Regions from separate parts of the Homo sapiens genome. Here all the other regions are linked to region 1. Evidence: promoter capture Hi-C in 16 types of primary human blood cells and fetal thymus (Javierre and others, 2016). All regions are on one chromosome and are shown on one strand. Each heading gives the region's core, a stretch centred on a gene start or on the middle of the fragment in contact. The rest is flanking DNA. Distances are from core to core; before and after follow the strand shown.

What was found. The method cuts DNA at HindIII sites, captures the fragments that hold promoters and counts their contacts. A CHiCAGO score of 5 or more calls a contact.
Region 2: a fragment that was not itself captured here is called in contact with the fragment with the promoter of TMEM196 in region 1 in 4 of 17 cell types (M0 macrophages, monocytes, M1 macrophages and 1 more); the score reaches 7.2 in M0 macrophages.
Region 3: a fragment that was not itself captured here is called in contact with the fragment with the promoter of TMEM196 in region 1 in 4 of 17 cell types (M0 macrophages, M1 macrophages, M2 macrophages and 1 more); the score reaches 12.1 in M0 macrophages.
Region 4: a fragment that was not itself captured here is called in contact with the fragment with the promoter of TMEM196 in region 1 in 4 of 17 cell types (M2 macrophages, M0 macrophages, M1 macrophages and 1 more); the score reaches 10.0 in M2 macrophages.
Region 5: a contact is called between a fragment that was not itself captured here and the fragment with the promoter of TMEM196 in region 1, in 9 of 17 cell types (M1 macrophages, M0 macrophages, M2 macrophages and 6 more). The highest score is 17.9, in M1 macrophages.
Region 6: a fragment that was not itself captured here is called in contact with the fragment with the promoter of TMEM196 in region 1 in 11 of 17 cell types (naive B cells, total B cells, monocytes and 8 more); the score reaches 13.5 in naive B cells.
Region 7: a fragment that was not itself captured here is called in contact with the fragment with the promoter of TMEM196 in region 1 in 4 of 17 cell types (M2 macrophages, naive B cells, total B cells and 1 more); the score reaches 9.9 in M2 macrophages.

Annotation. Positions count from the first base shown.
Region 1 is chr7:19,771,398-19,775,518 of GRCh38, reverse strand. It overlaps TMEM196 (transmembrane protein 196), which reads left to right and starts at 1,902. Exons shown (of 5, transcript NM_001363562.2): 1 at 1,902-2,969. The coding sequence starts at 2,823. All of the region lies in intron 1 of LOC107986774 (a long non-coding RNA gene), which reads right to left. The HindIII fragment of the contact is 8,082 bases long and covers 1-3,744 here.
Region 2 is chr7:20,695,992-20,700,112 of GRCh38, reverse strand. It overlaps ABCB5 (ATP binding cassette subfamily B member 5), which reads right to left. Exons shown (of 28, transcript NM_001163941.2): 17 at 1,563-1,706; 18 at 184-288; 19 at 1-55. Among named protein-coding and RNA genes, the nearest start is that of ABCB5, 82 kb to the right of the region's middle. The HindIII fragment of the contact is 833 bases long and covers 1,501-2,333 here.
Region 3 is chr7:20,675,296-20,679,416 of GRCh38, reverse strand. The region is part of intron 14 of ABCB5 (ATP binding cassette subfamily B member 5); the gene reads right to left. Among named protein-coding and RNA genes, the nearest start is that of ABCB5, 62 kb to the right of the region's middle. The HindIII fragment of the contact is 2,861 bases long and covers 979-3,839 here.
Region 4 is chr7:20,646,034-20,650,154 of GRCh38, reverse strand. It overlaps ABCB5 (ATP binding cassette subfamily B member 5), which reads right to left. Exons shown (of 28, transcript NM_001163941.2): 9 at 4,017-4,121; 10 at 2,507-2,620; 11 at 2,077-2,187; 12 at 8-133. Among named protein-coding and RNA genes, the nearest start is that of ABCB5, 32 kb to the right of the region's middle. The HindIII fragment of the contact is 8,939 bases long and covers 1-4,121 here.
Region 5 is chr7:20,621,542-20,625,662 of GRCh38, reverse strand. It overlaps ABCB5 (ATP binding cassette subfamily B member 5), which reads right to left. Exons shown (of 28, transcript NM_001163941.2): 2 at 2,325-2,398. The coding sequence starts at 2,377. Among named protein-coding and RNA genes, the nearest start is that of ABCB5, 7.9 kb to the right of the region's middle. The HindIII fragment of the contact is 2,620 bases long and covers 570-3,189 here.
Region 6 is chr7:20,594,914-20,599,034 of GRCh38, reverse strand. No RefSeq gene overlaps it. Among named protein-coding and RNA genes, the nearest start is that of ABCB5, 19 kb to the left of the region's middle. The HindIII fragment of the contact is 2,892 bases long and covers 623-3,514 here.
Region 7 is chr7:20,574,513-20,578,633 of GRCh38, reverse strand. No RefSeq gene overlaps it. Among named protein-coding and RNA genes, the nearest start is that of ABCB5, 39 kb to the left of the region's middle. The HindIII fragment of the contact is 2,702 bases long and covers 629-3,330 here.

The sequences.
Region 1 (4,121 bases), core at 653-3,152:
CTTTTTTCTTGATTTCTGTATTTAGGAGGAAATTTTAGGTGTATTTGGATTTATCTTAGGAGGATCATTACATGATATTTAAAAGGCACAAAAAATATCCTTTGTGTCCCAATAAAGATAACGTAATTTTTTTTGAAAATTTTAACACTGATGCTCATGTTTTAAAACTCAAAACAGCAGTTTCCTCTATAGAAAATAATTGTTTTTATTTGTAAAAATATTTGTTTTATTGTGAATTATTGTTAGTTACTTATGTGAAGATGAGTTGAATTTCTTCCATATACAAAATCAAAAGTTTTGGATTTCTAACCAATGACCCAGAATCAATCAGGATTGGTTTTTATCAGGCATATGATAACCAATCTTATATTCCAAGCCATCACATTCAGAGATAAAATGTTAACCGCAATATATGTTTTGTTTGTTTCTTTTTCTCTGTGAAATTCAACTATTGTTAATACCATCCCTGTGTTCTCTACAAAAGTTTATTTCCCTTCCTATATGTCTCCATTAATCAATTCATTTAATATTACAACTTGTTGTCTTCCTAACAGAGAAGCATTTTTTTCCTAAAGAAAAGAAGTGACTAAACACAAAGCAAAACTTCAACAACATATATGCTGTATTATTTATGCATATAAATTGGATCATTTAGATGACTTCTGTATTATTTAAATTAAATAAACTTTACATCATTAAAGCCATACACTAATGAGGTACTTTAGCATGTCTTTGAGGATTTAAAAGCATAGAAATGAATCCACTAATTATCATTCAGTACCAATGTTTATTTGTACTCCAAATATCACAATAACTGAAGCTCTTTAAGGCCTAACAAATTGTAACTCTTCTTCCTTACATTTGTTTTATTTTTAAGAGAAAAGGATTCAAATTTTTAAATTATAGAATATAAACATATGAAAAAAATTATAGTGTAGAATTGAGTTTAAACTCTAAAAGAAGCCCTTAATCAAATTTAAGAAAACTGAAACTGGCATTTATGTTACAGAACTTATGCTATAGGTCACCGAGCTTTTATGTTCTCATCATGGGAGCTTTAAGAAGCCTCTAATAGAGGCGCCTGCACTGCACTGATGTATAGAAGTCAACATTCCCTAGTCTTGTGTTATTGTACCCTAACCTCATCTTCCTTTGTTCTATTTTCCTTCAGTCCATGTCGAACTGGAGAACCCAGTTTTTGAGAAAGATGACCCACACCCAAAACCCTCTCTTTATCCCACTTCCTAGATCTCCTTGATAGAATACCTTGAGATTTTTCATAAAACTAGAGTAATGAAAATGGGGTCTAAACACAGCGATCCCTAGACATCTAGAGTCTCATAGGCATCAAAAGACAATGCAAAAATATCCCAGGCCAAGCTGGACTGGCCCCTGCCCTAAAGATTCTGATGAAAGTAGACTGTCAAAAATAATTGTGCATTAAGCCAGACGTGTTTTTTTTTTAAATAATGCCTGTTCTAATGCATACACATCTCTTGAATTTTGTTGAGAATATATAATCCCAGCTCAGTTGGGTCTAGCTATGCCTCCCAGAACGTGTGGTCACGCTCCTAGGGGAAAGCAAGGGTCTGTGGCTGGAGAGGAACAAAATCACCGTGGAGGTGTGGCCCCCATCAACTGCTTCTTCGCCCTACGACACGGAAGGTGACAGGCTGTGATGGCCGGGAGTGGACATTCCTTGTAAGCAGGCTTGAATCTAGCTCTCCTAGACAGGGGAGTTCCTTGGTGAGGGGCCTTGAGAGTCCTAGTGACATTAGGAGTCTGGCTTTTTCCACCCCCCTGGGGTTTCCGTCTTTCTTTGCTCACTGCTCCCCCTACCCCGCGTACAAGCTAAAGAAAGTTTTTCTCAGAATGAGCCCGCGTTGACGTAGGCATCGCCTCCCCTCTCCGCTGGATAGAAGCCCAGAAAGGAGCCACGGGGAGAAGCGGAGGTAGGGGTCGCCTGGATTTCTGTTGCTGCGGTCCGGGGGCGGGGCGGATCAAAGGCCAGCCAAGAGTACTGGTCCTGGATCTACAAATACATTAGGCTTTTTCCTCCTCCGTCAACCTCCTAAACCCCAATGAGGTCATAGCAATGAAAGAGAATCAGCTCGAGAGAAAGGAGGAGGAAGAGGACGACGACGAGGGAGAAGAAACCCAGACGGAAAGAGGCCATCAGACAAGGTCGCTTTTTCTGGCGACAAAGCAACTGCAAGGAGCGTGGTGCTGAATATCATCCGCCCGCTCTGCCTGGGGACCCAGAGACTTGCAGAAGCACTTCGCATTGCCACGAAAACAAAGGAGAGGTGACGAACGGGAGAGGGAGAGAGAAACTCGGAGCGGTTCCCTTTGGATCTCCGGGAAGCAAAGCTCCTCTCCTCGGCAATAAAACAGAAGGGACCCTGTGAAAGGGTCTAGTAGGCTGAGGAGGGCGCGGGTTTCCCTGCGGAGATTTGGGACGCGGCAGAACTCTGGACAGCGCCTGGGGAGCAAGGCTCGGAGCTCCCTGGGCTCCTCCAGGTTTTCCGCTGCTTAAAAGCCCCGGTACCGGTGTGCAATCTTCGCACCACCGAACCCAGGAAGATCCTTCTACGATCCCTATCTGAACGTGCCAGGGGGTGGAGCAGCTCCTTTGCCTCTGGCCCAGCCAGGGAAGGTCTTCGTTTCTGGAAATCCAGCCCTTGTGGATAATGCCTCGCTCTTGAAGAAAGAAAAGTTTTGGGATCTGGTAGGGGGTGGAAGGGGTAAGGAGGATAGTGGAAGAAAAAAAGGTAGATGGTTGATTTCCCTCTCTGATCTGGAAGGAAGATGACCGAGGAAGGATGTGCACCAGCGGTCAGATTATTGGGAGCCTCTTGGTGCTCTCCGTGCTGGAGATAGGGCTGGGGGTGTCCAGCGTGGCCGTGGGGGCGGTCAGCTTCAGCCTGGCCCTCCGAGAGCACAAGCCGCAGCTCGGAGACTCGTCCCCGGTATGGAGCGGGGTGTGTGTACGTTGAGCCATTTCACTCTCTCTTTACCTCTTTACGGTGATGGTCAGGGTGCGCGCATTAGTCACTCCCTCCCTGGGAAACAAAATCATAGATCTCTGGCTTGCATGTAGGTTCATGCTGACAAGCTATGCTTCTTTATATTGTCCTTTATTCGTTTTCTGTTTTGTTTTGTTTTGTTTTGTTTTGTTTCTTACTTGGGCTTAAGACCAAATTAAATGGCTTTGTTTAAAGGTGGGGGTGGGGGGTTAGTTTCCACTGGCTGATTCTACAAAAGGCTGCTTTGCCCAGTGGTGCTGTTTGGGAGGCGGGGGGAGGGGGGTGTCACACCTGTCAAGGGCAGGCTCACTTAATCTTTTGTTCCTTCTACAAGGAAAATCAAAATAAGAGTATTCCATCATTTTTTTGTATCAGGGAACAAGCAGGGATAGTTATGCATTTATCCCTGGGCAATAATGCCCAAGGTACACCAGAGGCAACACCAATAACAAAAACAGAAACGTGGTGTGAGTGTGAAAGGAAGTTTGTGGGTGCATTTCATTCCAGAAAACATTGCTGTTAATTTTCCTTTGCTACATTTCTGATATTTCACCTCTGAAAACGCTTTTGTAAGTTCTAGACAGTAAGTTAGAAAAACATCAGATGGTAAGACGTGTAATAACATTCTAAATGGAGAATAATTCTGCTTACAGAGTACCTAACTGCTCAGAGAAACTGTCATAGTTATCTCTAGGTCAGATGTCAGACTCAACAAGCTTCTTTTTTACTAGGATGAATCTCCAAGAAAGCCTTAGAGACCCATTTCTTCCACCAAGATTCAATAAAATAACTCAGCACCATTCCTAATGTGAATCTAATTGTGAAAACCAGTTTTTTCCTTCAAGCTATATATGTGTCATATACTTCTGGATGCCTAGCTTGATCCTACTTTTCAAGATAATTCAATAGAAAGTATTCTGTCACTGATAATCTGTAGCATGTTTAACCATCATGGCTTAATCACTTGAGCTTTAAGTCACTAAAAGAAAATGATTATTACGGAGTTCAAGAAAAATTATTCAAAAGTAATTCATTTTTGAAAGATGCTGTAACTTTTTTTTGAAACTGGCAAAATTTTGCTTTGGATAATTAGAT
Region 2 (4,121 bases), core at 668-3,167, 920 kb before region 1:
CCAAGTGTCTTAATCTCATCGTTAAAATTTCCCCTGCTCTGCCGTAAAATAATCCCTGAAAAGCAAACAAACAAAAATCTACGTTCTTTTCCTTTGTAACATTTAGTTGATATATTTTTAACTCAAATAGAAAGAATGGCAACAAAAAGTAATCATGCTCAGGCTTGTTTATTAAAAGCTTACCTGCATGAAATAACTGACAAAGCAAATAACACCCAAAATGACGAATATCATGGAATAAATTTCTGCATCATGCTTTAATGTGGTTTTATCATTATTTCCAAACATCTGAAAAGGAACAGATTTTTATCAGGTGTTTGGGGGAAAATATAAAAGAAACAGAAAAAGTGAAAATTTCTGTATATCAGGAGTTTTAAAATACATTTCTTTTTTTTTTTTCTTTTATGAGACAGAATCTTGCTCTGTCGCCCAGGCTGGAGTGCAGTGTTGCGATCTCAGTCTTGGCTCAATGCAACCTCTGCCTCCCAGGTTCAAGTGATTCTCATGCCTCAGCCTCCCGAGTAGCTGGGATTACAGGCGCGCACCACCACACCCGGCTAATTTTTATGTTTTTAATAGAGATGGGGTTTCACTATACTGGGCAGGCTGGTCTCAAGCTCTTGACCTCAAGTGATCCGGCTGCCTCCGCCTCCCAAAGTGCTGGGATTACAGGCGTGAGCCATTGCACCCAGCTTAAAATAAATTTCAACATAAAAATAAAACTATACACACATTTCTGTGGGAAAAAGTGCACCATGATGCTATCATCTGCATACATTATCTATGATAAAAAATAACTTGCTTTTAATTCTCAAACTATGTAAATATGAGATCTGAATAATGAGTCATCTATCTGCTATTATTATCACAGTATATTTCCCAAGAAACCACCAGTTTGCTTGAATTATTATTTTGAATAATTTTTGATCACTCAAGTTTCTTAGTAGTCTTCTAGTTAAGTAGTACCTGCAAGGTGAGGCTTTTTAATGTGCCCCCAGAATTTTTCTTAAAAATTAGTAACATACATACACAGGCATTTATACTGATAAAGTATAGCTGTGCAAATTAGGGAGACTGAAGTTCCAGGCTAGAACTTTAGTTAACATTGAAGAGTAAGCATGGATCTTGTAAGATCCTTAAACACACCAATTGCCCTGAGTCCTTTAGCAAAATCCCAGACTCTTGTTATTTCTTCTCCCTGAGCTGGCTGGTAAGAAAAGAAATTGCAACTATACCCACTAATTGAAAGGAAAGTAGTTGTATTTGCCTATTTTATTTCTTCAGTGTTTTGGAATGCTGATCCAGCACTGGAGTAAAAATTAGAAAACAAAGCAATTTCTTCACTGATTGCCCAGTCAACAAGGCCCGGCCACACACTTTACAAGAGATGCTGGCTTATCTCCTGGGAACATTAATTAACCTTCCTATCACGGACTCCACACTAGGGGCGGCCCACTAAAAGTCCCAATTTTCCCCTTGTGGTTTAGACTGATACAAGCTTGTTCTCTCAGGTCATACTTTCTTTAAATTGCTGAAAGTATTAGCAAATTTATTTTACTTACGGTTATAATTTTTGCAAAGATGATGGAAAATACTGGATGAACAGTTCCATTTAGAACAGAAGCCAATGTCCCCAGAACCACAAAAGGCCATTCAGGCTTGTTTAACTTTAAAATTTTTAATAGAGAGACTTCAGGAAGACTTATCTAAAAATAAAATATGTTGGTTAAAAATGCCAGTTTGTGTGCATAACAGAATCTAGTGAAGTTAGCCCATCATAAACAGAATTATAATGTATAACATCAAACATAACAGACAGCAGGGTAGAAAATATTTTTCTTAAAAAATTCACTGCCCGTATTATTAACGATGACCCTAAAGCATAAAATAAAAGAAGATTTGCCACAAGTGACTATTTGTGCAATATCACTTTTTGGCATTTCACTCAGTTGCTATTATTTAAAAAGTACAGTTAACTCACATGTAATTGTTAAGGGTCACAAAAGAAATGGCAGGTGTATTTTTCTTTACTCTTGTTAAACTGGATGGAATATTGTACTACAGGATAAGAAAAAAATCTAGGCAGAAGCTAAGAAAAGAAAATGTGGAAGGTAAAAGTTTCATTACGATCTCAAACTTGAAAGTTGGAAAGTTTCAAGATGTATTTACAAAAACATTTTCCTAATACCTTGGCTTGTTTTGGAGTTCTTATTTACAAGCAAAATATTGCAATATCCGAGCACATTATTTAAACTCACCAAGACTGTCTCCTCATTTTTCCAAGGGGAGTGGTATCAGTTCCTATCTTGTAGGATTGTTTATACAATTAAGCTTTATTCAGTACATTTGCAACTCACTGTATTTGCAAACAATAAACACCCAATAAATGCTAGCAGTCATTGCTGTTTCTGATGTTATTACAGAGGAAGGATTATGTTACACAAAATTTCAGGTTTTATACAGAGAAAGCACAATGCAAGTAGTCATTCTGGGTCTGCCAGCCCTTCCTAGGAGACGTGGAAGGTGACAAGGGGAGGTAGTGGTCACAGTGGTCAGAGGATAAATAATACGATAACGATCTCTCTTGGCTCTTGTCTGCAATAAGTAGTGTATTTCAGAATCTTAAAAATTCTTCTGAACAGCTTTGTGGTGAGTAATTATTCTGAGTAGGAAAGTAGACAGTGAATTCTTTGGTATTTCATTCATTAAAACTTCCTCATGGCATTCACTCTTAAAATAATGACATTTATGGACCTAATAACCAGAGAATTCTTCAAGTAAGACTATAAAATAGTTTATAATTCTCGTTCTATTCTCAGTGTGGCCACTATAATGCGGACTGTTGTTTGGACAACAGAACTTTGAAATTCTGATGCCTTTAAAGTCCATTTTCAGGGTGGCTAACCCACATTTATATTGGATTACTTAATAATTTGATTGTATCCATCATTTTTCCTGCTGAAGTTTTCTAAAGCTCATCATCAAAAAGGGCACAACATTTCAGCTAGGTCACTGTTCAAAAGAATGTACAAAAATTTAAAAAGTTGCACGCTAACTATCAGGCACTGAGCATGAAACTAAGTGCATTACAAAATTACCTTATTTGGTAAGGAGATTAAGGTTTAACATGTGCCAGGACACCAGTAAATTACAGAGCCAGGAAATTAGGAGGGCTATCTTCCTCCTATAGAACGATCTACATTACATAGGTAATTTAAAGATGTTCTTTTGCCTCTGGGAAAATACACAATAAAAGATTTAAAATGGTATCATTTAAATAGTGTTGTCAAGATAGAAAAGAAGTAAATAAGATAAAAACAAAACAAAAATTTCAGTAAAATCATAAAATAGGCTGTGTTACTTAAATATGAGACAGGTTGTACATGCGTTAAAATAATCTCATACAAAAACATAAAATTATAGACATAAAGAGATATGACGAGTATTAAAAAGTTAAAAAGTGATATCTAAAATATTCTAAATTTCATTTGATACAGCTTAGAGCTTTCTTGAGTTATAGTTTTCATATAACAAAGTGCACATATTTGAAATGTAAAATTTGATAAATTTGAACACTGCTACAGACTCAGGAAAACATCAAAAAAGTCAAGATAATAAACATATCCATTACCCCTAGAAGTTTTCTCCTGCTTTTTTATCATCCCTCTCTCCACACTTCTTAGTTGCCAGTCCTCTTCCTTCCTTCCTCCTGCAACTACTGATATGCTTTCAGTCACTATAGATTAGTTTGCATTTTTAGAACATTATATAAATGAAATCATACATTATCTACTCCTTTTCAGATAGCTTGTTTTGCTCAACATACTTATTTTGCCATTTATCCATGCTGCGGCATAAATCAGCATATCATTTCCTTTTATTGCTGCATAGCATTTCACTGTATAGCTATCTCACAAATTATTATCCATCCACCTGTTGATATAAATTTGAGTGGTTCCCACTTTTAGACTATTACACATAAAACTGCTATGAACATTCATATACAAGGCTTTGTGTGGACATATACTTTCATTTCTCTTGAGCAAATATCTAGAAATGAAATGGCTGGATCATTTAGTAGGTGAATGTTTCACTTTTTAAGAAACTGACAAATTATTTTC
Region 3 (4,121 bases), core at 1,160-3,659, 900 kb before region 1:
TCACTGCAACAGCTGCCTCCCAGGTTCAAGCAATTCTCTCCTGCCTCAGCCTCCAGAGTAGCTGGCATTACAGGCACCTGCCACCATGCCCAGCTAATTTTTTGTATTTTTAGCAGAGATGGGGTTTTACCATGTTGGCCAGGCTGATCTTGAACTCCTGATCTCAGGTGATCCACCCACCTCAGCATCCCAAAGTGCTGGGATTACAGGCGTGAACCACCGTGCCTGGCTTTCTTTTCACTCTCTTAATGGTGTCTTTTCATGAACAGAATTTCAAAATTTTAATGAAGTCCAATTTATCAATTTTTTTTCTTTTACAATTTATGCTTTTTGTGTAGTTTTAAGAAATCTTTACTCCAAGGTCACACAGATGTTTTCCTATGTTTTACCTTACAATCTTTGTCATTTGCCTTTCATATTTGGATGTGATATGTAACACCTGGGATTAGTTTTTGTATGTGATGCCAAGTAGAAGTCAATGTACATTTTCCCCATAGAGTTAACCAGGTGTCCCGGCAGCGTATTTTGAAGACCATCATTTCCCTACTATACTGCAGAACTGCCTTTACCATAAATCAGGTGACAATTGTTTTGTGTCTGTTTTTGTATTCTATTTGCTATTGGGCTGGTCAGCTTGTCTGTCACTGCACCAATGCTATGCTGTCTTAACTACTAAAGACTTAAAACAGGTATTGAAAACTATTAGTTTACCTCTTCAAGCTTATTCTTCCTCTGAAAGATTTTGTGGACTATTCTTGAGGTAATGTGTTTTTTTTTGTTTTTGTTTTTGTTTTTGTTTTTGTTTTGTAAATGCCTAGCACAATAACTGACACTTCTGGCACTACAGATTTGCCAGGGAATCAACAATCGACAGCTAGTATTGTTACTATTCATACTATTACTGTGTTACTGCTATTTACTTTTCTTATTCTTATCTATTATAGAGCAGGAAAATGGAACTCAGAAAGTTAAGAAGCTTGTTCAGGGCCTCAGCCAGTCACTGGAAGGACTGGTACTAAAACCCAGTGTGGTTTTCCCTCTTCTCTCCACAAGGTCTCTTCATTGCAATAGATAAACTTGATGAAGCAGGTGATAATTTCTTTCAAACTTTTTTCCAAATCTATAAGAGAAGGGAACCTCCCAAAGCATTGGCTATTAAGATTAAATGATAATGTGGAAAAGATGTATGATATAATGCTACCTGTAAAAATGCAGGAAAAATATGTATCCTATTATAATTATGTTTTAAAAAAATTTCCCATAAAAAAGACACCTATGTAGAAATATATCAATATACTAATAGTACCTGTTCTTACTTATTGGATCTATGGATTATATTTTTCTCATCTCAGTTTTCCCAATTTTATTTAATGTGCATGTATTGCACTTTGGTTTAAAAGTAAGAAAGATTTAGAAGGGCATGACTCTTGGCTTAATGCTCTGCTGCTGTCATTCTGGAGTTCTTAATAGTTTTTGAAGAAGAGGCTCTACATTTTCATTTTGTGCTGGACCCCACAAACTATGTAGCTGGTCTTGATCATTGACAGAGGTAAAAAGGATTCAATGTGAGTCTACTTCAGCTGGTTTTTCCCACATAACAGATATTAAGGGAGTCATTTAAACAGCGGGACTAGGTAGAAAGAGGGGCAAAGGGTACTTTTATAAACTAAATTAATTAATTAATTATTGAGACAGAGTCTCGCTCTGTCACACAGGCTGGAGTGCAGTGGTGTGATCTCAGCTCACTGCAACCTCCACCTCCCGGGTTCAAGCGATTCTCCTGCCTCAGCCTCCCGAGTAGCTGGAATTACAGGCGTGCACCACCACACCCGGTTAATTTTTGTATTTTTAGTAGAGACAGGGTTTTGCCATGTTGGCCAAGCTGTTCTTGAACTCCTGACCTCAGGTGATCCACCTGCCTCTGCCTGCCAAAGTGCTGGATTACTGGCAAAGGGCAGTATTTTTTGATGGTTAAACATTTATCCAAGTCAGGACAGATGTCAGGACTTTGATAACTGATTTTTAGTCTGATACTAAAAATCAGACTATAATTATTATTCAGCTTCTAAATCTGTATCCTTAATCCCCATTTCCTGTCACAAAAAGTAGGTAGAATGGACAGTTATGCTCCCCTCTAGCAGCCCTACCTGTGCTTCGGAGCTCTTTTCTAAAAGTATATACTGAGATAATATGACTGGGATCAAATTTCCCTTTATATTTTTAATTTAAAAGCAAATTATCACACTGCATGAATAGCTGAACAAGTTTTATGAACAACAGACTAAGAAGACTAATGATATAGGAGTGAAGTCCACACTGTCTCAATAAAAACTCGTAATACAGTTAATCTGACAAATATCATGATGGATGTAACTATAATAATTAATACATTACAAGGTAATTAACTACAAAACAGCAAGCAGTATATATAGATTATAGTGTATGACTTTTATAATGACAAATCTAGTATTCAATAATTTCATCATTTGTGTTTTCTGGAGTTGCAAGTCCTGGGTTTGGATCTTGTTTCTGCCAATTTCTGTCTTGGAGGACTTAGACAAGTTTTTTAACCCCCTAAGTCTTATATTCTTCATTTGATAATAGGGAAAATTACACTACCTCTATTTTAGAGTTATTGTGCAGATTGATTTTTTGTGGTAAGAACACTTCACATGAGATCTATCCTCTTAAAATTTTAAGTGTACAATACAATACAATATTGCCAACTATAGGCACAATGTTGTAGTGTTAATGTCTAGAACTTATTCGTCTTACATAAATGAAATTTTATTCCCACTGAACAGCAATTCCCTGTTTCTCTCCCTGCTCATTCCCTAGCAGCCACCATCCTATTGTCTGCATCTACAAGTCTGACTGTTTTAGACACCTCATTTAAGAGAAATCATGCAGTATTTGTCCTTCTGCGACTGGCTTATTTCACTTAGCATAATGTCATTCAGATTCATCCATGTTGTTCCATATGGACTTCCTCCTTTTTAAAGGCTTATTAATATTTCCTTGTGTAGGTATCATATTTTTCTTTATCTGTTAATCTGCCAATAAATATTTAAGTTGTTTCCATATCTTGGCTATTAGAAATAATGATGCAATGAGCATGGGAGTGTATATACCTCTTCGAGATACTGACTTCAGTTCTTTTGAATATATATTAATATATCCAGATTATTGGAATTAATGTGCGTATTCTTATACATATGTGTGTGTGTGTGTGTGTGTGTGTGTGTGTGTATGTGTAGTAGAATTGCTGGGTCACATGGTAATTCTATTTTTAATTATTTCTGGAACCTCCATACTGTTTTCCATAGAGACTGCAACTTTTTACTTTCCATCAGTCATATACAAGGGTTCCAATTTTTCCACATCCTCACCAACACTTATTTATTTATTTATTTTTTAACAATAGTCATCCTAATAGGTGTGAGATATCTCATTGTGGTATTGACTTACATTTCCCTGATAACTAGTGATGTCAAGAATCTTTTCACGTACTTGTTGGCCATTTGTATGTCTTTTTTGGAGAAATGTCTTTTCAACTTCCTGGCCTATTTTTAAATCAGGTTATTTATTCTTTATTTTTGTTTTTTACTATTGAGTTATAGGAGTTCCTTATATATTTTAGATATTAATCTCTTACCAGATATATGGTTTCCAATTTTTTTTTCCTTTTTGTAGGCTACCTTTTCATTCTGTTGATTATTTCCCTTGTGGTGCAGAGGCTTTTTGTTTGATGTAGTCCTACCTATTTAATTTTGCTTTTGTTGTTTGTGTTTTTGGCATCATATCCGAGAAATAATTGTCAAACTTAATGTCATGAAGCTTTCCCACTACGTTTACTTCTAAGAGTTTTACAGTTTCATTTTAAGTTTTACAGTTTCTTATACTGATGTCTTTAACCTATTTTGAGTTGATTTTTGTGTATGGTGCAGATAAAAGTCCAGTTTTCATTCTTTTGCATGTGGACATCCAATTTTCCCAATATCATTTGTTGAATAAACCATCCTTTCCCCATTGTGTACTCTTTGCACCCTTGTCAAAGGTCAGTTGATTATATATGCATACATTTATTTCTGGGCTTTCTATTCTGTCCCATTGGCCTCCAT
Region 4 (4,121 bases), core at 1,622-4,121, 870 kb before region 1:
CACTTACAAAGCCATCATCCGGATCATATAACCTCTGCAGAAGCTGGACTACCGTACTCTTCCCACTGCCATTGAGACCGACCAAGGCGACTGTCTCTCCAGACTTAATTCTGAGATTCAGACCTTTCAGAATCTATTGGAATGTATGGAGGGAAAATCATAAAACCACAATAAGAAGATGATGGACACATTTTCAGAAAATGAGTACATAATTATAACCAAAAACAAATTCTTCTAAAAACAAATTTAGATCTTGTTATGTTTGTTTCATGTACATGTGTAGTAATAGCCTGAATAATTTCAGAAAATAGTAGTAAAAGAATCTATCATTATCTCTCTATGTAAAGAGAACTAAATTAAGAGTACTTCAGAATATTAACTAGTAAACTGTTCACATTTTCAACTAAAATATTTTATATGAATTTTGACTATCAAGTTAATGAAAGTCTTAATTTGTAACAAGTAAATGAGATCTTGCCAGATATTTTCACAAGCTATTTAATGAAGCTCCTCCTTAGGACATACTAACATAATTGCAAAGCATATTCTAAAGGAAAACAGCTGGCAAAGTTTCTTAGTGGCTCCCGATAGATGAGAGTTTATCATTAGAAACCTTGGTGGGCTCATGGTGACCCATGAGGGAACACTTTAAACATTTTCTCAATGACTGGGGTTGCTACAGCATTTAGTGTGCCAGGGACCTGCAATGTGATTGAAGCCTCACAATAATTACCCTCTCGAAATGACAACAGTGATCCTGTTGAGAAATTCTCACCTATCTTTGCTTGCATCTGTATGTAGTTAGCCCTAAACAGGGGAATCTCCCTTTGAATTCTCTTGCTTTGATCTCACCATTTGTAAAGCAATGGACCCTTTGCATAAGCCAAACATAAAACCTTCAGAGGGCCAAGCCGAGAAAAGTTCTCTGAAGGAGGTGAGAAATCGGGGACCACCAGTAGGAGTACCTCTTCTCACACCTGCACTTTTACTCTAGATTTGGTTTCTGGTCATTCCTTGAAAGAATTTATTTATTTAAAATAGGTGGACCCCCCCAAAATTTCATTCTTTAGTTTAACAAAAAGGGTTATGTTTCAAAAGTTCATTTTAAAAATAGTTGTTTAAAACCCAAAGAACACTTTCCCATGCAATATAATGGCACAATTGGTGCTGAAGTCCCTAGGAAGCCAATCCAAATACAGTTGCAAAATGTAGTTTGAAATACTGTACAGTTAAGAAAAATGGTGGAAGTCAATACTATACCAATAATGGTAATCGGTAATTAAGTAACAACTTTCAAAACTAAAGAGCTTTGAAAAGAGAATTTCGATCAAAGTTTTAATCAGAAAAAAAATAAGGAAGTAGGAGTAGGTAGGTCTTTATACAAATTCTGTAGCAGACATTAGAAATTGATCACACTAGTAATTTTATCTATTTCACTTAAAATCATGTCTTTTTCTATGAAGCCAGTGTTTTATTAGTAATCGCCTTGTGCAATCTTTAACAACAACTACTTTTTTGGTAAATACACTAATGAAGTGAAAGGGGGAAGACAATAAAAAAGACACACATTTTCACAAGAACTTGTCAAAGACTGAATGATGGAGTACGATAAACTGCGTGTGTGTGTGCGTGTGTGTAAAGGCGATAAAGTACTAGCCGCAATTGCTGCTGCAGTAAAAGCCCCAGGAAAGGAAGAAGGGAAAGGCACATGTGCATAATTCTCCTAGGTTAGAGAGGAGGGGGTTAAAATGAGTATGTTGAGTGGGGTAGCATCTAGGAACCACCAACAGGTGGCAGCGTCAACCCAAGACATTTAGGTGTGTTCCCAAACCCAGAGTAGAAGAATTTCACGGAGCTGAAAATGCTTTAGTCAGTTGAATATAGAAAGAATGCTGCAAAATATAACTAGTTGATCCAGAGTTATTTGTCCATTATTTATCTACCTCCTCAAGTCTCTAAGCAAAGTAGCCAAAATCTTGGAAAAAAGTGATCCTAAGTAATCATGTCAGAGAAGATCTTGGCCAGTAGAAGATAATATCAGAAAACTGCACAATTGCGTAATTTGTTTTAACCTACCTTGATAGATGGTCTTGATGGATAATTGAAAGAAACATTTTTAAATTCCACAGTTCCTTCTATGGATTCAGGTTTATATCCAGCTGTGGAAAAGTTATCTATACTGGGTTTCTTGGAAAAACAAAGGAAATGTTATAAATCTTCAAAGGAGTAAACTGACAGTCTCTACATTTTAAAAATAGTATAAGGATGGTTTTCTTCCATGACAGTTTCCTTTCTGCTTTAGAAGTGCATTGAGTTAGACATGAAGGTTTCAATACAACACAATCTCCTCTTAGAAAAGAATTAAAGGCAGTCTCTCTTTCCCATAAACAACTGGCCAACATTAAATTTGTCCATCCTATTGTTTTAGTGAAAATGAGGGTGTATGTTTTTTTGTCTCCTTCTTGCAGTAATGATAGTTATTCTTCAAAGCAATAAGAGGTCTTACCTTATCAATAACCTGGAAAATATGAAAGGCAGCTCCTCGGGCTATTGCGAAGGTTTCAAAGTGAGGGACTGCTGCTCCAATGCAATAACTGCTATGGATTACACTAAAGAAAACCTACAGGAACAAACAAAGTGATATTTATCTTTCTGCAGTTATATAAGAAAGACAATAGAATGTAATATATAATTATTGGTTTAGGCTCACAGAGAGATATTAGAGGAATTAGGTAAGAAAGAATGGAAGATATGACCAAATAAAAAAGAACACAGATTACACTTGATCTTAGCCAAAAGGCCGAGAAGCAATAGAAACACAGATTAATCCAAGTATCCTTGGCCTTTTCCTAATAAGGAACAACTTTTGATTATCTCATAGTCTTGTGGTTATCACATGCTGGGATGTGTGACCAGAAAAATCTGCTAACTGAAGTGTGCTGACCATGTATAAACCCCATGGTGAGTTGCACTCCCCTCCTTGTTGGGTGACCCCTTGAACTTTAAAAAGAAAAATTCAGTAGATTTTATTGGCTCAGAGACATTGTACTGTTTTCACTCAAACCGTTTTTGAATTTTTGTATTAGGGGACAGCTGTCCATTTTAAGACAGACTCATCTCTGCAAAAAGTCAAATAAGAAAAGAATCCCTCAAGCTAGGAGCTCTTACTCCTATCATATAGATGAGGATGCTTAGGCTTAGTAAGCCAGATACCCAGCCACACATAAATTGAGGAGCAAGGATGAGTGAAAAATCGTTCATGCTCACATTTCACTTTATATGAAATAAATGAATAGCTAAAAGTCTTAATTATGAATGCCTCAAATTCAAAAGATGAATTTAATGGAAAGAAGAGAAATCTGTAAGAATGGAAAGGCCAAACAAGGATCAAAGTATAAAGAGCAGATCATTTTGGTTCCTCAAGACAAATGTTTCTTAATCCTGAACTGATCTGTTTATTGTAACTTAAGAGGATAACTGAATAAATTATTATTTAACACATAACCCATAAGAATTTAAAAGTCTCCAAACTGTGATACTGGACAGAGCTATATGTAGTCTGTTTTTTAAATTACTACATGCTGAAAGGACAGAGGAAGAGGAGGTGAGTGTAAACTCTACAGACCATTTCCAGAGAGAAGACATTTAGCAAGGTGAATGCAGAACTCCGTCTGATCTCAGCCCAGATGAAAGGAAAAGTCTCACAAGAGAATGGCCTTTTTCACTGCTAGATTAACAAAACTCAGTGTATTTCCCAGTGGGGAATTCAATTATGATTCTTCCAAAAGCGGAATGCAGATGCTTGACACAGCGAGGACACTAAAACATGCTGGATGAATAAATGCTGTCAATTCATAACTATAATTTAAAGGTGTATACAGATAATTTGAGGGAAACAAATATTTGTTTAATAAAAACATCCATCTTTGAATATTTATCTTCAAAGAGGAATTTTGGCTAAACTAGGTAAGGAAAGATTATCCAGGCCTGACACCTTGTTCTCAAACAAGACTTACAGCAAGAACAGTCCCGATGGTATATCCAGGTTCTCCATTAAGAATCAAGGAGGTTCCATACCAAAAAGCAAGTCCATAGGTTCCATTCATAAAGAAGTACACAGC
Region 5 (4,121 bases), core at 630-3,129, 850 kb before region 1:
AACACTTGTTCATTCCTTTTTCTTTTCTTAGTATTAGCCATCATAATGAGTATGAAGTGGTGGATTGCAATTTTTAACCTTTAGTAACAAAATCTGAGCTTTAAATGAAATGAGTTCTATTAGGTACACATTAAGCAAGTGTACTCTTAATTTTGTCTCCCTTTTTGAAAATTTCATTTCTTAGCTTTGTATGCTCACATTTCAAGGAGGTCCAAATGAAAGCTGTACATTGTATCCACTGATTTCACAGCAATCTGTCAGTTACACACACACACACATGCACGCGCAAAATTCTGAAACATTAAGAGAAGACTGTAGGGAACAGTTTAAGTTTTCTATACAGACACAACAGGAAGACAAACATCCGGCTCCTCTCCTGCTTTATAACGCATTGTTCTGTCAGCTTTGATAAATGACAATTCACTTAATTTTATTCCACATGAGGTTAATAATTTACTTGAGTTCCGGTCAATTTGCTCTGGGCTGAGGCATGAGATGACAAAAGAATGCTTTACCATTGCAAAACCCTACAATCCCTTTCCTCACCTCTAGATGCGGATTTTGAAGCTTAACACCCAGTAAACCCTCTTCTCTTGATAAAAGTTGTTTCAGGGAAATAATTTCTAACTCCGATTGACCTTCATGGAAAGGTTTCGAAGGAGGGCTTGGGTCGTTTTGTGAAAGTCTCTTTATCAGCGTTGACATAAGAAAGCAACATGTGGGCAGGTGGGCGGGTTTGGGGGTCTCCTCCCTCTACACAGCTCTTGGGGCCAAGTGTCCTTTGGCAAAGGCCAAGGGCGGAGCCTGAGGCGCCCAGAGGAAACTGATTCCATTGTGCGGGTCACAGCCGCACTAGCTCCTAGTCCTAGCGTGCCCGTTGCTGGTTTTCAAGCTGGAGGGGATCTTAGCGATGTTGGTGGCCCAGTACTTTCATTAGCGCAAATCAGCATGGCCCAGAGCAGCGAAGATTCTGCTCTTAGCTCCAGTTGTGTCACCTCCACCTAATAGGAATCCTTCCTGTATTTCATGGCCAGACCCCACACCTATATCTCACTAATTTCACTTTTCAGGGCCCATCCAACCCCTACCTTCAATTCCTGTTGCTATTTTCTTTCATATTGTTTTCTCCTATTCTCTCCAGTCATGGAAACTAGAAAAATCAACCACCTCCCCATTCTAATTTTCTGTGCGATAGCATATAGATGCAGTTTGCTGTTGGTATTGCTACTGACCTGTTAGTTTTTTTGGTTCACCAATGAGGTCTGTAGTGTATTATTATCATGACCACTTTAAAGATGAAGAAACAGTCACAGGGTAAAACAACCCAAGTTTATGTAGCTAGTGATTGAACTTCAGTCTGACGCCAGAACCCAAACTCTTAACTGTACAGTTACAATGCTTCCTGTGGAATATATGCCGAACACATGATTTAGTCAGTCCACAGGTAATGCTTAAGAGCACAAATGTATTCTAAAATAAACCTGTCCCCTCAGCATCCCCTTACACCAGGATGCTGGGGCATCTTTAGATAATGTTTTGAATTTATGAGGAAAAGGTGCTTAGAAAGGAGAACATTTACTTTGGGAAAATAACAACAAAAACATTAAAGGAGAAGTTTGGAATGCAGTTCTTTTGATTTTCAAAATGTTCCTAAATGGAATTTGCTTTAGCCTAAGGAAGTTTCTGATTCTGACTCACAAGAAAATGGTATCGCTGGAATGCCCTCTCTGGCTATTTTCTGAATTAATAAACTACATGACCTGGAGGGATCTTCTCCAGTTTTATAGATTGTATGTCCAAATATAACACAATTATTATGGTAAAAGTGGAAATAAAATAGATGTAAAACTATTTCCATTTAAAAACTCTCAATTAATGAATTCCACGTGTAGAAACTTGTATAACATACATATTCACAGAGACATCTATTCAGAGAGAAAATAATCGGAATCGAATATTTTCTTTTATTAAAGGTACCACATGGAATGAAGGGTCCACAGAGAATTGAAATTAAAATTTGCAGGTGCCTTTCTTCTGTATAATGGTGGACAAGAAATTAACGATGAGAAATTCAGAAGAGGAGATATCTGAAGCACTAAATCAATAAATCCTGGATAAATAAATCCTATTACAATTAATCCTATTGCAGTTCCTAAAATCACTATTAAATTAATTATAAGACTGCTTATGTTCAAGTTCAGCAAAATGCAAATAGTGTTGCTATTTTTGGGAAAAAATTATAAACATTTTTGCTATAGGTGTGGAAAGGATGAGTTATATTTGAAGTTGTGGAAGCATACTTACAGAACTTAGTGAGAGCTTACCCATTTCTCTGATAATTTTCTTGCATTTCTTCAGCTCTTTCTGAATTTTCCATCTTATTTACAATTTACTTCTTCTGAAATACAATTTTAACAAATGTATTATGGCTATGTGACTTTTATCACTTAGTTGATATACAGCATTCTTTACATCCCACATCTCTCACAGTTTGAAAAAGGAAGCATCTCAGAATTTCGCCCTGCCCAGCCCCCCACTCCAATTGAAGTTTCTGGCTAGGCAGTTCATAGATTCAAATTTTGTCATTGAATTTATAACTTCCTTGCTTCATTCTAGGCTTAGATTTGGAGCTAATGAAAGTGTTAGAATTGGAATAAAAGAAGGAAAGTCAGATTCCACGGAAAATGCACTGTTTGTCAGGATATTAGATATTCCTACTTTGCCATTCATTTGACTGGAATTGGTGAAAATTTTTAATCTATCTCATGCTGTTTTCTCTTTAAAAAACTGATGCAGTAGTTTTTATTAGCCAGCAGTTTGAGGGAATAGGGTTTTCTAGTTTACGAAACAAACAAAGTTTGGAGCTTTCACAAACTGGATTAACAGTTACAAAAAATTAGAATATTTTGAAAATCCATTCATCATTAAAATTGTATTAAGCATAATTTACTCTTCCTTGGGATGATACTTGAGGATCTTACCTTGTCTTAAGATCACAGTTATGTTCATAAATTATAAATTATCATTTTATTATGGATCTATAGAGATGGTTGTGACTCAGTCTCAGTTGTTAGGCCCTATAACATATTACCCTATATAAAGACAATTATAAAGATATGGCTTTAAACTTTAAAGTGGAATTACAAATTAATTAAAGAGTACCTAAGCATCTGAAAAAGCTAATAAGCTTTCAAATAGTAAACTTCTCATTGAAAGTGGATCAGAACTGCTTTTAGCACCAAGGAGGAAGGCATAATACAAATACAGCCATCTGTTGGCTTATTCTTCCTTTTACAGAAGTAAATGGTCATACTTCATATGGGAGATATTTACAACTGCTAAACTGACTTTACACCATCTCCAGTAATCTGACATGTATGTAAGAAAAATAAAATGATTGACAAATCTCAAACATTTGCATTTTATAGAAATTAACAATTATGTAATGAAATGCATCCATCCATAGAAAGAAATCAAAACAATTAAGCCTCGCCTTGGTAAGTGCATGATCTGTCCATTTAAACCAAAATCATGTATGCGTTCTATTCTCAATAAATAATGAGCTGCACTTTCATAACTGTGCTTTACCAAGCTTATCTTCTGATCATGCTGTAACTGATTAGAACACTGGTTAGTATCCAGGTAAAGCACGTTGTGTTCTTCATGTCATACTGCACTTGGGAAACAGTATGAGCAAAGGAAGTCCACTGAGCCAAATAAACACTCTTTTTAAAAAGAGCCATAGTGTCTGTATACCTGGTTTTCTATTGCACAGTCCCATATCTTTTTGGTTAGTTGGTTGAATTCTTAATTATAATAGGTAAAATTTTAACAAGTCAACAGCACATTTGCACAAGAAATATTTATTGAGTAATACTTTACGCAAGGCGTTGATTTTATTACTTTATTATTGCTCCCTAAAAATCACCTCCTTCTCTGATTTCCTTTTGCTCTTTGCTTGTGTCTGTATTATATTCGTGACACATTCTGCATTATATTGCAAATCCTAGTTACCCTATTAGATCATATATTTTTCTCTCTTTCCTCATGAAGAATTGAAAAAAGTATTGAGCTTATATGATGTGCCAGCTACTAGTTTGTAGAATCAAAAGATATGTTTC
Region 6 (4,121 bases), core at 819-3,318, 820 kb before region 1:
AGCAGAAAGTTGAAAATCGCATAATCTCCATGAAAATTTCTGGTGATCTTCCTACGGGAAAGGGAAGTTGCGGTTTGCAAGGAGCACAGGCAGGGACCTCTTACCAGTAGTTTGTGGGTCGTTGGACCACAGGAGGATGGGGGAAGCATTTGGGCAGCCAGAACACATAAATCCATATTTGAAATACCTTCATAAGCAGTGTAGTTGGTGGGAATAACTTGGGTTCATTAATTATTCTGTAATATTCTCTTTCTGAATGCCTTGTCCGATTATTAAAGTCAGAAGAAGCTATGCAACCTGTCAGCCACTAGATGTCATTGTTGCTCATGAAATAGAATGGCTCATTCTACAGTGTTTATGTGTAGATCCTTGAATGACTGCTGTCCTCTTCCCTGAAGTTTACCCTTCAACTAAGAGCTATGAGTAATATAGAACATGTGGCTTCTGATAAGAAAAAACTTGTGTCCTTGATAGAAGCACGATAAACCTATCTAAACAGTTACAGAATATCACAAGAGTGTGCATTCATTTATGACCACTTACAAATATGAAGAACAGAGGTAACAAGAGCTCTCAGATCCAGAGAGAGAAATAAATGTAAACTGCACTGGCTGTGGAAGCTTCTAGAGATGTGGGACTCAGGTGCTGTTCTAATGGATGATTAAGACTAGGGTAGGAAGAAAGCAAGATCATTTCAAGAAGGAGGCATGCCATGAGCATTTGTGTGATGGTGGGAAAAAATACTCAATTTGGGTGAAGTAGAAGATTCATTCTGGGAAGAGTAGAGCTGCTGGTGAGGGTGACAGATGGTATAGGAACAGAAAAAACAGAGGAGTGCTTGAATTTACCTTCCATCCTGAATTTGCCTCTGAAAGTTTCTGAGGAGAGTGATGTGATGCAAATTGCACTTTAGGAAGATGAAGTGTCAGCGGTGTATAGATCCAGGAGAAAGGAAGAGTCGTATTAGGGAGAACACATACACTACAGAAAGTGGACAGCCGCTACAGTGTCCAGGTAACAAACTATAGCAGAAGACCAGTAAGGTGAACACAAAAAAATGACTGGGCTACCCTGACATGGCTATCTCTCGTTGAGGAAGACATGCTCCTGAATGGAAGGAATTAAAATATCTGGAGACTTAAACCTTGTGAATGGCCCTTCATTGTTCTCAGGACAAGGGCCCCCCAGGTCATCTAGGGCCACAGGTCCAAGCATCCTGGTGCTATGCCATTTTCTTCTTTCAGTTCCCTGAACTCATCACGCGCCTCCTGCTTCAGGCTCTCGCCTGAGTTGTTCTCTGTCTCCATCCCCTCTTCCTCCCCCTTTTCTCCCCTTACTTGTCTCTCTGTGTGCATCAGTTTCTTTACAATACACTCTCATAGAACCAGGAGCTTCTGCATCACAGCATTTATCCCTTTTCATTTATATTTCATACTTATGTAATTGCGTAACATCTGTCACTCCTTCTAGAATGTAAATTCTGTGGTAAAAGGGCTTATGTCCTCATATGCTCTCCATCATGTCTATTCTCATCACTGTGGGAGACAGAGAAGAATCAATTGCTTCTCTGTTGGGTCTCTGATGAGCCCACAGAGGGGAGAGGCGGTGACTAAGAAGCTGAGGATTTAGAATTAATGACTGTAGAAGAGATGGTTCTAATCATTTTAGTGTCCCTCCAAGTTGCCAGGGTGTAGCAACTTTACAGTTCATTGACATGACCTGCAGTATGGAGCCGTTTGCATTTTGGGCCTTGTAAGATGTAGCATTTTACAATCTGTTACAATTAAATGGCATGGAGCTATGATTGTTGGACGTGGAAATGAAGTAAAAGATTCAAGTCATTTTGAAGATATTTCCACAAATAATAAGGACCTTTACTGAAACGGCTCTGCAAAATCATTAGAAAGTTTTCGTCAAGATTTATTAACACTGCCTTTAGTAAAAGAGGTCCCTGTGGTGGCTGGGACAAATAGCTTGAAATGGTCTTTCAATTGCAAGAATACATTCAAGGCCTTCTGACACAATTTCTAGATTAGTCTTTGTTACAGAAAGTTTATGAATGGTTATTTGCCATGTGGCCAAGAAAACACAACAAGCATTTTGTGCAGTGATGACAGTATTTCCTGTGCTTAGCCTACTGTATGGATAACTCATGCTGATGCCTGGCATATGACTTAAATTCTTTTCTTGGCTTTTAGCTAGTAACCCCCTCTTAGTAAGCAATGAGTCAATCAATGATCTCATGCAGCTAATAGTGTGATTATATCGAGAAAGACACAGTAGCTATGGAAAGTGGCTCTATTTGCTTTTTATATTGTTCTTTTATGTTTAGAGTTATACTATATTGTATATTTGAAAAATGATCACAGCCATATTTCCAGGTCTACATGCTTTTCCAAAACACTGCTATGCCCTCTCGGGATTGAAGGCTTTTCTCTTATCCTTGAAATTGGGTGCATTTTGCAGCTGTTTCAACAAATTGAATATGGTGGAAGTGATACTGCCTAACTTACAAGGCTAAGTCAAAAATGTGTTATGAATGTATTGTACATTTCAAAATAGTTAGAAATGAGGACCTCAAATGTTCTCAGTGCATAGAAATGATAAATGCTTGTGGGATGGATATCCTAAATACCCTGACTTAATCATTACACATTTTATTTGTGTAACAAAATATTGCATGCACCCTATAAATATGTACAAATCTTATGTATCAATAAAAATAAAATAAATTTTAAAATGTGTTATGGCTTCCACATGGTTTATATCTCTCGGGATGCTCATGTTTGCAACCCAGCCGACATGCTGTGAGAAAGCCCAGCCACATGAGCCATCCAGGACTGTGTAGGATTATCAGCCCACAGACCCAGCTTGGGTCTCAGCCTGCTGCCAATGTCAACTTACATGTAAATGAGCCTTCAGTTGATTCAGTCCCAGCCTTTGAGCTATCCCAGATGATGCCAGACAGGGCATAGATGAATTATTCCCACCAGGTCCTGCTAAATTGCAGGTTTAGGAGCATGATAACTATTGTTATAAGGTATGAAATTTTGGGTCACTTGTAGGTAACTGGAGAAATAGCCTAAAACAGGGAGCAAAACATTCTATTTCAGCTTGCCCTTGTGCTTTTGTTCATGTTATTCCTAGGCCCTGAAATACCCTTTCTTTCCCTTCCTCTTTTTTTTTTTTTTTTCACTTGTCTAACTTTTCTGCTTATCCTTCATGAATCAACTCAGGTGTGAATCTCTGTAGGAAGTCTTCCATAACGCTTAGTTAAATGGCCATCCTATGTGTGTAAACCTCAATAATAGTCCCAGCCAAACGTGCTACCAAGATTCATTTACATGTTTGATGCCTACACCAGTTGATGCAGTCATCTTTGTATCGTTAATCTACGTACATTCACGGACTAACACAGTGCCTGGTTCCACCACCTACTACCTTCGTGAACTTCGTCAAGTTAATGAATGTCTCTAGGACTCCCTTTTCTTATCAGTGAAAGAAGATAAAAGCTTCAACTCATAATGTTTCTGTGAGGACTGAAGGTTAAAGTCATGGAAGTTGCTGGCATATACTAAATGCAACATAAATTAGCATAATCTCAAAATAGGAGGAAACAGCATTCCAGAAAGTAGATCTAAGAAAAAATATGTTGAGAACCATTATTCAGAGTTCTCAACACCTCCTTCCTGCTCCTCCACTGGGCAGCTTTGAACCCATTACATTTCTCCCATTGTATAATTTTCTTTGTACATTGCTCTCAAGGGGAGAGCAGGTACTGCTTAGAAAGGGGACGTTAGTTGGATTGATGAATGGGTTTTAAAACTTGTAGCAAAGGCAGAAGTCTTAAAAGCCAAGTGCTTAAGACAGATAACGTGTTTTAAAGTTCAAATGCTTGGCTTTGAATATCAGAATACAAAATCTTGAAGGTAGCACGGCGTGGAGATTATGCCCAAATCAACACAACATATGATGATGTAAGAGTTAGTGGGAGAAACCCAAATCCTGCCCAGTCCTCTCTGTCCTCCCCACTTGCCAAACAGAAAGGAATGGATGTGTTGTATCCTAGAGTATCCTACCTGTTGCATAGCCAGGGGAGACTAGAAGCCTGTTAGAATCCC
Region 7 (4,121 bases), core at 730-3,229, 800 kb before region 1:
TCACCAACAGGTTTTCTTTGACACTGTGCTGAGCTCTGGCCTGCAGAGAAGGTAGACCTCGACAGGGAGACAAGTGGCACTTGAGTGTGTTTAGCAGGGCTCATTAGAACTATGGAGATCTGGCAGCATCACTGTCACATTCTAATTATTTGCCATGGAGGTGGAAAAAGCATTGCGAAAGAGCAATTTGAACAATAACAAAAATGGAGGAATGCAGATGAACTGAGAGAAAGAGGGCTTTCCATATAAGCCACTGAGAGAACATACTTGAGGAAAAAAGATCTTTTAAGATAGTCACAGGGAGTACTGACAATGTGTTAAGCATTTTTACAAGTTTTTTTTCTCATAAATTCCTTAAGATAACCCTATGAAGTGGATCCTATTATTATCTCCATGTTACAGAGGGAAACACTGAGGCTTAAAGACGTTGAGTAAGTTTCCCAGGATCTCACAGCTAGCAAGTAGCAGAGCTAGGAGTGAAATCTAAGGAAAGGCAAGGCAGTTTAAATTAAATATTCAAAGAGGAAAGTCATATGAAACGGGGATTTTTTTTTAATCAAGTATGGCTCTGGAGGGCAGAACTAATGCGAAGTTAAGGAAAAAAGTAAATTTCACTACATTGTAAGCTTTCTGAATTTTAGAACTAACCCTGGGGGAAGAACTCCTTCATGAAATCATGAGCTGTGTGTACTAGAAACATTCAAGTGCAGCTAAAATGGCCACGTGTCAGAGAAGCTGTAGAGGGATTTCAGATTTGAGTGGGAATGTTAGACCAAGTGACCTTTAAATCCCTGTGGTTTAAAATTACCACGATGTGAGTTAGTTCCTCAACATCTGGATTACATGTATTTTCAGGCCTGAAAAATAAGAGCTCAATCTCAGTTAACTCTGATTTCCCTGGAAGCCAAAACAGAAAGGGAAACTATATTCTGAATTTGATAAAAAGGTAGAAAATTAGTTTATGAGGAATAGCAAACTTTTTCTTTGCTTTCATTTCAGAGGGCAATTGAATACAAAGGTCAGTGTTTATCTGTTAAGCTCCCTCATTAGAGGAAGTATGACATAGCAGGGGCTTTAAGGTGGTTTTAGAATATAAATATTGCCAACTTCATTTGCATTTATATCTCTGTGTCATTGAGCATCACCATCTTTAATTGCCATCCATGGTCTAGTTTTTGACACAGGTCTAGGAATCTAGGAATCTATGGGTCCCATAAAACATTTGTAATCTTTAAAAGCCATGCATTTATCACATATTTATCAATTAATCCAAATCTAATAAAAATAATTATTATTTTTCTTACCACTAAGTATAGTTTTAACAGCAAAGTGATAAAAAGAATTAAAAGCTCTTAACTCAGTTGAGATTTTGATCTCTTTAAAACCCACAGTGGCATAGTAGTCTCCGCAGGTGTAAGACCAAAAATACTTCTTGTCATATTATTACTTGTGAGCTGCTCTCAAAATAGCAGTTTTTTAAAAAATAAGAAACCACTTTCACCCTCTTATAAGAATTGTCTTATTCATACAGTACAGATGTTGGGAAATGAAGACCTATAAAATCAAGGATAGACTAACTTTACAAAACAAAGAAAAGAAAGAATCATATTCAATCCTGCTTGGTTAAGCAAAATACAATAGTGAACATATATCTTATGGGTTATATATCTAAGACCAGGAAGGTTACCTAGTTATTGTAGAAGTAAAGCAAATGGAATACAATGCACATATAAAGACCAGAAACATAATTATAATTCCATTTTTTGGCAATTGAATAGAAAATAAAAAATTTCTTTTTGATAAGATTCCCAAGGAATAGGAATGCTTATAATCAATCAACTTATTGGGAGCAAGACTTACTGATTTAGTTCAACTAGGTGAATTAAAAAGTTATTCTGCATAAAATCCTAAACTTGGTGCTGAAGAAATCATAAAATGAGACACAACCTTTACCTTAAAGAGTTTACCATCGGGCACATATCAGTCAAATGAGCCAGGAACTATAATAAAAGGCAATACATTATGCATATTGTAACTGAGGTATAAACAAAGTACAGTGGATTCAAAGGAGAAATTGCTCACTTCCTATTTGGGGTGGAGAAAAGATAAGGCTTCTTAGGAGAAATGACATTTGAAAAATGGGTGAAATATTTACAGGTTGAAAAAATGGAGGAAGGATGTACCAGGCAGATAGATGATTAAAGCTGTGATGACAGGCAAGTGTGAGTCCTGAGAAAGTTTGCCGGAAGAGTGGAGCAGATGTATGTGAGGAGGTGAGGCATAGGAGCTACTACTGGAGATGCAGGCTGAAGCCAGGTGTGGTGCATCTCCTCACAAGGCTAACGGGTCTGCATTTATTTTCACAGGTGATGAGGGGTCATTTAATGTATGGAGTTGAGGCATGACAGGATCACAGGGCTGCCTGGAGTCTTGTATGCAGATTGTGCACTGCAAAATCTTAGACAGTGTCATTCACCTGGTGACCCTGTTGATACCTATATTTCGTAGGACCGTATTTTAGTCATTATAAGTGTACTATATAATGAGAAGTTTCTTGACACACGGAAGTCAAGTGTCTTGAAGATGGGATGCCTTTCCTGATTTGTACAAATGCACCATGTGGGGCAATGGTAGCTTGTGACAGCTGTGCTCTGGGTAGACACGTCTTAAAACAGAACATAGAACTGATTGCTACAAGGACAGCCTGGAGACTTTGACAATAGTACACAGTAAAACAGGAGCTTCACTTGGAAGGGAGGCTGATAGAGAATCTAGGTGGGAGGCAATGAAAGAAGAACCCATACATGACTTCAGTGATGGGTGACAGATAATGGTGGCCAACAGGAAATAGAAAAGTGAGAAGGGAGATTTATTAAGGCAAGGGAAAGGGAGGCAGGGAGAGGGCAGAGGTGCACACACTTTGGAGCCAGCATTGTTGGCAGAACATCCAGGTGGATGTGTCAAGTGTGAGGCTGAAGTGCTGATCTGGAGGGCAGAGCAGGAGCTGGGCCAGAACCATCCACATAAATGTGTTTGCTGGGTCCCAGGGAATTAATGAGATAATGACAGAGCACAAGAGAGAGGCGAGCAGAGTGTAACTAGTATCAGAAGCAATCCTCGTTCTTATCATATTTTGCTCTCTCACCCCAAAAGAATTAGGAATAAATCTTGTAAAAGGAGCCTGCCTTCTTAGTAATGTGGTTGTTGGATAGCTTGTTTTATTTCCAGTTCCTGCCAACCATCCAATGCAGTCAGAAAGCCAGCTTTTATCCAAAAACATGCCATTTTTTTTCATTATAAGATTAGATAAGAGTGACAGCAGGAGAAGCTTTCTGACCAAAGGCAGAATCGTTGATGACCTGGTAATGTTTCAATGGTGAAATGGAAACACATAAATCAATTATGAATGCAATCAACTCCTCACTCAAGAAAGAAAGCAATGGCAAAAACTACCTAAAAGTATCCTTATTTGATCCTCTGATGCACTATATGTGACTCCATGTTTTCATTTCAGTTTTTCCTAATCTGATACTAAAATTAATTTACATTTCATAAAGCCGTAAAATTAATGATAAGAAAAAAATAGTCAAGAAGTGCATCAGGTGGCAGAGAAGGAATTCTGAGATAAGAATGTCTGCCTTGTGTAAGTCTTACACAGAGAATGAGGGCTTATTCTAGCTGTCCTGAGCTGCTCGTCTCATAGTTTCAGACTGGCTGGAACACTTCCTGGTATCAGTGCGCGCACACTTATCTCGTTATGAAGATCCCAGCAGCCAACAAGGTATCAATGTTCCAAATGTTAGGTAGAAGTTGACTATTAAATAAAACCTATCTCCAACTTGCCTACCCCTTTACTTGCCATTTTAGGCTATTTTAATAGACGTGGGGGGCCAATCTAAGCTGGGAGTCATAAAATATTGGTTCTTCTGGGTCTTCAAGAAAGTTTAAAAAAGAGAGCAACATTTGGGTCAACATCAATATTTCCTTGATGTATCATTTTAAATTCCTACCATGACTATACTTTGTTTACTGCACTTTTCAGAGAAGAAGAAGTGTATTATGTGCCAGTATCTCCAGGATGATGGAGAAGAGTTTGATAGTCTAGTAATCCATTTGAAATT